2 separate regions of the Homo sapiens genome follow, and region 1 is linked to region 2. Evidence: promoter capture Hi-C in 16 types of primary human blood cells and fetal thymus (Javierre and others, 2016). All regions are on one chromosome and are shown on one strand. Each heading gives the region's core, a stretch centred on a gene start or on the middle of the fragment in contact. The rest is flanking DNA. Distances are from core to core; before and after follow the strand shown.

Region 1 (3,635 bases), core at 366-2,865, 45 kb after region 2:
CTGAGGGGGGTCCTAGGGAGCGCAGGCAGAAGCCGTGACAGGCCATCATTTCGGCGGCCGAGCCTGCCTCTAGCCTCGTCCCTGTCTCCCTTCCCACGCCAGGTCCTGCGCTTCCCGAAAAGGATGAAGCTCCAGCTGCAGTTCTGGGGAGGCCTGGACCCCAGCTCCGGGGGGGCCGGGCTACCAAGGCCGCTGGGCCTGGAGAGGCGCGTCCCTGGCCCATCTTATCAGCGCTCTGCAGGGTCTGGGCCTGCTGCTCGCGTCCTCCTGGGCTCCCAAGGCCACGGGTGGGTTAATGGCTTGACAGCCGGCCTCCTGGCCCAGCAGACGCTGAGCAGCCCGATGGCACAATCCACCTCTTCTCTCCAAGGCCAGCTGGAGGGACGAGGCACGACAAGGCCATCCCTACAGCTGGCACTTCCCCTACAGCTGAGAGGGGGCCTAAACTACAGGACACACTCCCAAGACCCTTAAGCCCTGGCAGCATCCCGGGGGAGGGGGGCAGCAGGTGGAAGTGGAAAGAAGCCTGTGGAGCTGCCAGCAGGGAGAGGGAGTCGGACATGAGGCTGAGAGGCCTCTGGGAACCCCTGTGCCAAGGGGCTGCTGGCACTGGGCAGCAGCACCCCAGAGCCCACGAGGAGTGTGCCCAGAGCAAGTGGCTCAGACCTGGGTCATGGCTCGAGGGTGTCGGGCTGTAGCTGCTGGTCCCAGAGAGTGCAGCCCAGGGCAGGCATCAGGACAGGAGTAGGAGGAGAAAGAGTGTTCTAGGAAGAGTCTAGTCCCCTAATCCTGGTGGTGGCTGGCTGTAGCCTAGTGCACGCTGTCTGGCTTGTGTGGCTGTGCTGCCTGAGTATACATACCCTAGCAACATTCTCCTTGCTCAGCACTGGACATCAGCTCTCCACCTGGCCCCTTCCTCTAGGGAGGGGATGGGGAGGCCTCCTAGGGTTAGCAGCAGGAGTTGGGCCTCAGGAATCAGGAGCCCTTGAAAGGAGGATGCGTGGTTCCCATAAAACTGAGGGTTGCCCTGGGCCCTACCCTTCCTGAGTCAGCTCTTGCTTCAATTCCTTGAAGCACCCCAGCATCCTTTCAATAAATGCCTGCCCTTTGTGGCCTGCAACCAGAGGAACTGCAACTAGCACACTCACTGAAGGAATCCTGCTGCTGCTGCTGCTGCTAAAAACAACCGAGGTCATGGATGAGGGGGTGGAGGATACTCTCATCCCACCTCCAGACTGACAACAAAAAGACCTAAAGATCTCTGTGTACCTGGGACTGTCTACCATTGAAGATTAGCCATGGTAACTTGTTGACTTAGTGATCAACTTCCTGCAGAAGCCCATAGGTCCACCTGGACTCTGCCCAGGCCAGCGTGTTCTGAAAATGGAGGGCTCTGTCACCATTCACTCAACAAATGTTTATTCTGCACTGACCGAGGGCCAGATGTACCAAGAGCTGTGGACACAGCACTCCAACTTACTCCAGGGCTACTGAAATCAGGGATGGCTTCCCCAAAAGGCACACTAAGGAAAGTCTATGTCACTAGCAGAGAAGAGGCACCAAAGACAAAAAATCAAAAAAGAAAAAATACCAGAAACAGTTTGACATTTGATTTTTTTTAAGTAGTCCTCGTGGGAAAAATCAGAACTTTGTTGTACTTCCTTACATTCATTTCCTGATTACATGATGCTTTTGTTTTGAATCACGTGTGGAGGGTGTCACCAAAATCTTTAGATGCTTTGTCCTTATGTGGATCTGGACCCAGATCCTAGCAAATGTTACCATCTCTGCCTCACAAAGATCTGACAGAATGCAGGCAGTTGGGGCTATCCTTAGGAGAGACAGCTCTCCTTCGCAGTAGATGCACCTGGGTGATAAATCCAACTCTGACCACAAGGTGGCAAAAGAGTAAATGACAATTCCTCATATATGTTTTGTATGTTTATATAAAACTATTGGTTTATATAAAATGCTCTCTAAAAATATTAAGAAAAACGTGTGCTCCTTCACACATTTTTGGGTTGATGTCTGATATTTTGCATCACAAATGTCAATTGGCTACAAATAATGTAATTTGTGACAAATGTTAATATTCAAAAATAAAACTGTTATGTCACTATTTCACATGAATCCGGTGAAACCTAAATACCTTAGTGACTTGAGAGCCACCATCATCTGTTTTAAAAATGTATAACTGAGCTCTTCTTTGATACTTGGAAGTTGTACATTTTCCCTTTTCTCAGCTCTTAATTCCATTCTGTTTTTCCAACAGAATTTTGTCTCAATAATTGTCTGTTTTTTCACTTGAAATGTTTTTGATTATCCTATCGTATTTCTCTGCAGCAAAAATGTGTATATATTTTTCAATTTAAATGCTCTTTAAATGTTCCTCTGATTATAAGGCTCTAAGTGTTGTTTAAAAATTTGCTCTTGTTTGAATTATCATGACAATTAGTATTAGAATAAAATGGATCAAAACATTGTGAATATATTACAAATTTTGATAGGTAATTATTAAACGTAAAACAAAAGTTCATTGTAGATAGGGCTTTTTTAAAAAAAATTAATGGGTGTATCCATGGATAAACATTGCTTTTTGCTAGAATGAGATAGGCTTCAGCATCAATTCTCTTCCTATTTTTTGTTTGGTTAAATGTTAGCACACAGAAACCTCATTTATATGAATAAGTGAATAGGAATGGACATTTTGTTTTAGCAATGCACGCAAGTCTTTGAATTCCTTTGGAGATATATGGGGGGAAATTACACAATGATTTATCCTCAAAATTATTTCTCATGATTTATCAGCTGATAACTTCATAGGTTTTTTCTTCAATTCTACTGGAAGCAAAGAATTGGAAACCATCTGAGTTGCAAAAGGATTTTATCCCCATTCATTTGTTAGAGCAAGTTGTTTGTTTACCATCGTCAGCATTGTTCGGAATTGTCTCTCCTGTGCCCCAAGGATTTTACATCACAGGGCAGCGCACCCAGGTTAAGATTCAGGATAGGTAAAAGATATGCTTTTTCTTTTGTAAAGTGCAAAAAGGACCATTGTGAAAGGGGAGATAGAAAAAGAGAACCAGTTTGATTCCTACACTGCAAGTATGTTCTCTGGCAGGTCAATTTTAAAAGACTACACAGGAAATTTGAGGATATAGAAATTGATCCCCTTAAAACTCCTGTACTCCAGGGTGATGCACATTCCACTTTAAAAGTTGCTAGTTTATATTTATTATTATAAAAGTAATATATACAATATTCGTGTTTTTTTAATAACAAGGTATACAAGGCATAACATGAAAAGTTAAAGCTCTTCCCTCCCCCGCCAATCACACCCATTTTTATTCCCCTGAGATAACTACTTGTTAGCACTTTCACATTTAGCCTTTAAGAAATTGTCTATGCAAATACAAGCATGTTTTATACATGCAGTTGTCCCTTGGTAATCCGTGGGAGATTGGTTCCAGGACCCCTGTGGATACCAAAATCCATAGAGATTCAGGTCCCTGATATAAAATGTTGTGTAGTATTTGCATATAACCTATACACAGCCCCTCATATACTTTGAATCATCTCTAGGTTACTTTGAATCATCTCTAGGTTACTTTGAATCATCTCTAGGTTACTTTTTG
Region 2 (4,110 bases), core at 1,478-3,977:
TTTCTTACCCTGCCACATGGCCATCTTGATCCTATCTTCACCCACGCTGGGGTCACAGGCTGAGTTTCCCAGAGCCTCTCAGTTTTGTAGGGAGACTTGATAGAAAGGCAGCTATGTGGCCCTGTTTTCTCCAAGGGGCTAAAGCCCCAAACCTGAAAATGTAAACAGAAAAATGAATACCTAAAAGAAACTATACACTTCAAATGCTTGAAAATTATCTCCTGCTCCTCTCTGAACCTCTCTTTCAAAGATATGCAGGCATGGGTAGTGTCAAGTTTCCCTCTAAGCAGCAAGGTATCTCTGAAGAGAGAGAGATCTGGAGTGAGTTAATGTTGCCACTCAGTGCTATACATTTCTGCATGAATCATTAGAGCTTCAGTAAATGAGGTCTGAGTCTCAGTTGATGAGTTGCTGGATGAAATCACCGTTAAGCACCTTTCCTACCTTGAAGTTTCATGCTTTGGAGACTGAAGAGCAACATTAATATCCAGTGCCCTAACCAACCCCCAAAATACCCAACTTTACATTTAAAAATCAGTAGAAGGAGAGGAAAGTTTATGAATAAAGTTTGGAAACAGATCTTGTATAGGGGAAAAAAAAGGAAGCGGAATAAAAAGTGAAGAGTGATGATACCCTTTGAGTAGTAGTTCTCTCTCCTTGTGTCATTATACTTTCCCACCCTTTGCAAATTTCCTATAGTGAGCGTATATTGCTTTTATAATCAGGGGGAAAATGAACCAAAGAAGAAGAAAAATGTAAAAATGGAATACCAGTTTAAAGAAAACCAAATTAATTCAGCTAATTCCTGTTGTTAAAACTTCAAATCCAGTCCTAGGACAATATTTGCAAAGATATTAAAGGAGTTAGGGGCCGGGTGCGGTGTAATCCCAGCACTTTGGGAGGCCGAAGCAGGCGGATCACCTGAGGTCAGTTCGAGACCAGCCTGGCCAACATGGTGAAACCCCGTCTCTACTAAAAATACAAAAATTAGCCAGGTATGGCGGTGCACTATAATTACAAGTGACGCCTGTAATCCCAGCTACTCGGAAGGCTGAGGCAGGAGAATCGCTTGAACCCGGGAGGGAGGCGGAGGTTGCAGTGAGCCAAGATTGTGCCACTGCACTCCAGCCTGGGCGACAGAACGAGAGCCGGCTCAAACCAAAAAAAAAAAAAAAAATAGGAGCTAGGAATGGGAGAAAAAATGAGAGGTCTGACGACTTAGTTTGACTTAGAGGCTTAACACTCTGCTTGCCCATTTAAACAAGATCTCAGTTAATAAACTGGTCTTCCCTACTTAGCATACAAGCCAATCTGTTTTTTCTAAAAGTCTTCACCTTTTTGACCTGGTGAACATCAAAGTAGATTGTTATTTCCATATCTTTTATACAACCAACACCTCCACCTCCTAAGTGAAAGTGCTAAAGCACAAACACTGAAGGCTAATACTAGCTTGAGAATCGTGTTGGCCTTCTTTAATGACAAAAGGGTTAATGTGTACACCAGTCCCAAAACACCAACAGAGAAAAGACAGTGCTTTGGACAAGGAAAAGTTCGCGAAGTCCAAGAAAACTAGGAACTCACAAACTCCTAGGGTGAATTCAGCAGGAAAAAGCGCTCCGATGACTTCTCTGAGACCTGGGACAGTCTGTTTTGATTTGCCTTTTTTCTTCTCCTATTTCGCGTGCAGTTAAGAAGTAATGATCATCGTCCCGTGGGACTAGGCGAAATTTAACATCCCTGAAGTTAAACCCGAGCAGTTGCTAATAAATGTATGAAGTTTATGTAAAGTTGATTCGTGCTGGTTTTTTATGCTCCAAACTTCTAGATTTCCCTCACTTACTCGGGGCAGCTTCCACTGACGTTATCGCACGGGCACAGGTACAACTTCACTGGGAACTCCAGGCAACTGATTTGCTCTGAAATGTTAATCAAAGGAAACGTGCGTCAATGTAAAGGCAAAGCTTTTCCCGTGTGGATCAAGGCGCTCAAGAGCAAGGCTCGAAAGTCTGGAGAGAACCAGCTACGCGCGTTAAGTGGCAAAAGGAAAACAGCGCAGCAACTACTTTTCCGAGAGTTTCTCCACTTTGCTAAGACCCATACAAAACCAGCGGCAAGTCCAGAGCCGGAGGGAGAAGAGCCGGGCCTCGGCTGAGCTTTGCCAGCCTAAGTCACCCTACCCCAGTCCGGGAAAGGGGACGCAGGCGGCTAAACACTCCGATTCAAAAGCGGGGCGGGCTTGGCGCCGCTCCGCAAGGAAACTTCGCTCGGGCAACCCAGGGACCATAACTCGGAGAACAGGGCTGGGCTCCCGGGAAGACGCCGCTCAGCACTGGCTGGAACTAGCCTGTCTACCTCCTCTAAGCGCCGGGCTGCCAACGCCGGGCGCGGGGAAGCCCCATCTCCGGGGGTCCAAGCCAGCGGGATTGCGCTTCCCCTGTGTCGCTGCGCTTAGGGGGTGCTCCGGGGGTGGGCCGGGGGCCAGCGGCCCGCCAAGGACCTGTTGGGGAAGGGACAGCCCGTTTGCCTTTACCTGTCGCCGAGGTCCGGAGCGGCGGAGCCCGTGTCCGCCGCCGGTGGGCAGCGCGCTCGGTCGGCTCTGGCGTCCAGGACACCAAGTTGAGTGAGCGCCCCACGTAGCCGGCAGAGCTTCATTCACACAGCCCAGCCGGGGAGGAGGGGGAGCGAAGCGGGCGCGCGGCTCATGTGACAGGGCGCCTCGCGAGTATCGGCTCAGCCCAGCCAGCGTCTGCGCGTGCGCGCCACGCCGAGCTCACACCCGGCACCTCTACCCAGCCGAGATGAGGGGAGGCCCGCCGGGGAGGAGCTGCCAGGAGGAGTTTCAACTTGCGCAGCCGCAGTACGTCGGCCCCGCTCGCTGCCATATTTAATGAGGACTGGGCGGGCGGGTCCTATCCCAGTGCTGGGCGTGTCAGTTGCCTTTGAAAACGCAATGCCCCATTGTGTTTCACTATTTCCAGCTTGCAGTGCCTTTTTTTGCTGGGGAGAAGGTTTGTCCTTAGAATGAAACTGTCTATCCTGAGCTTTCGGCCCACAGAGTAATTAGTAGTAGAAATCTAATACTAATAACATTAGATCACATAATTTGAGCTGCTTCTTATGTGCCAGGCACTCTCCTAACCCCTTTACTTTTTTCGTCTCATTTGGTGTTCACAATAACCCCGAGGGTTATTTCTCCATTTTTACTCATAAAAATACACAGGCACAGAAAGGTTAAGTAACTTGTCTAAACTCATATAATAGTAGGAATAGGAATAGTGATCAAACGTAGTGATACTTTTAACAGCCAACTTGATGTTTCCAGCAACGCTGCAAAAACTATACTGCAGTTGTTAGTACTGTATTATCTCCATATTAATCATTACAAAACAGAGGCTCAGAAAAGCTGAAGTCACAGGACTAGTACGTGGTAGAACTGGGAATCCAACCTAGGTCTAACTTACTCCAAAGCCCTTACCCTAGGTTTGAAAGAAACAGCACACCGTTTTGCAGAAGAGAAAACTTAGGCCAAATGGGGTGCACTGACTCACTTAAGATGATCCAGCTAATTAGTTCTTGGCAGACCTGAGACTGGAATCCATATAATCCAAGTAATCTAACTAGAACCAGGGTACTCTACTGCAGTGAACAATTTGGAATGCCTACTTTGGACAAGCTAAGTGGTCAGGGATTTAAAAACCCCTATCCTAGCCCAATCAGCATAAGGCTACCGGGGACAAATTTGTAATCCGACATAGTCAGGCTTTGACCCATTGCAATATGAGAGACTGCACACGGTAGGCATTTCATCAAACAGAAAAACATGGAGTCATTATAGGATTGGAGAGAAGAGTGGAGTTTAGGTGAATTTTAAACAAAGCAGTGTTTTTGGTAAGCTCAAAGCAAAGCAGTACTGTCATTTGGGGTCACCATCAGGTCTGAACTGCAAAGTGAACCCAGAGTTGTGTTTCCTTGGGAACCACAAAATAAAGATAGATGTGGAATGTTGTGTCCAGATACCCCTTATCTGAAGCTCTGCACCTGGGTTGGAAATTGAGGCTGCTTCTCTGTGTCAAAGAAACTTATGTCCTCCAGATGCATGTGGGATGTTTC

Evidence for each region. The method cuts DNA at HindIII sites, captures the fragments that hold promoters and counts their contacts. A CHiCAGO score of 5 or more calls a contact.
Region 1: a contact is called between a fragment that was not itself captured here and the fragment with the promoter of CLCN5 in region 2, in 1 of 17 cell types (fetal thymus). The highest score is 5.9, in fetal thymus.

Annotation. Positions count from the first base shown.
Region 1 is chrX:49,875,215-49,878,849 of GRCh38, reverse strand. It overlaps USP27X-DT (USP27X divergent transcript), which reads left to right. Exons shown (of 2, transcript NR_026742.1): 2 at 103-2,126. Among named protein-coding and RNA genes, the nearest start is that of USP27X-DT, 2.3 kb to the left of the region's middle. RefSeq lists an enhancer at 3,486-3,635. The HindIII fragment of the contact is 6,269 bases long and covers 1-3,635 here.
Region 2 is chrX:49,921,213-49,925,322 of GRCh38, reverse strand. It overlaps CLCN5 (chloride voltage-gated channel 5), which reads right to left and starts at 2,727. Exons shown (of 15, transcript NM_001127898.4): 1 at 2,531-2,727; 2 at 1,841-1,916; 3 at 9-152. The coding sequence starts at 24. RefSeq lists a silencer at 2,416-2,465. The HindIII fragment of the contact is 4,286 bases long and covers 1,964-4,110 here.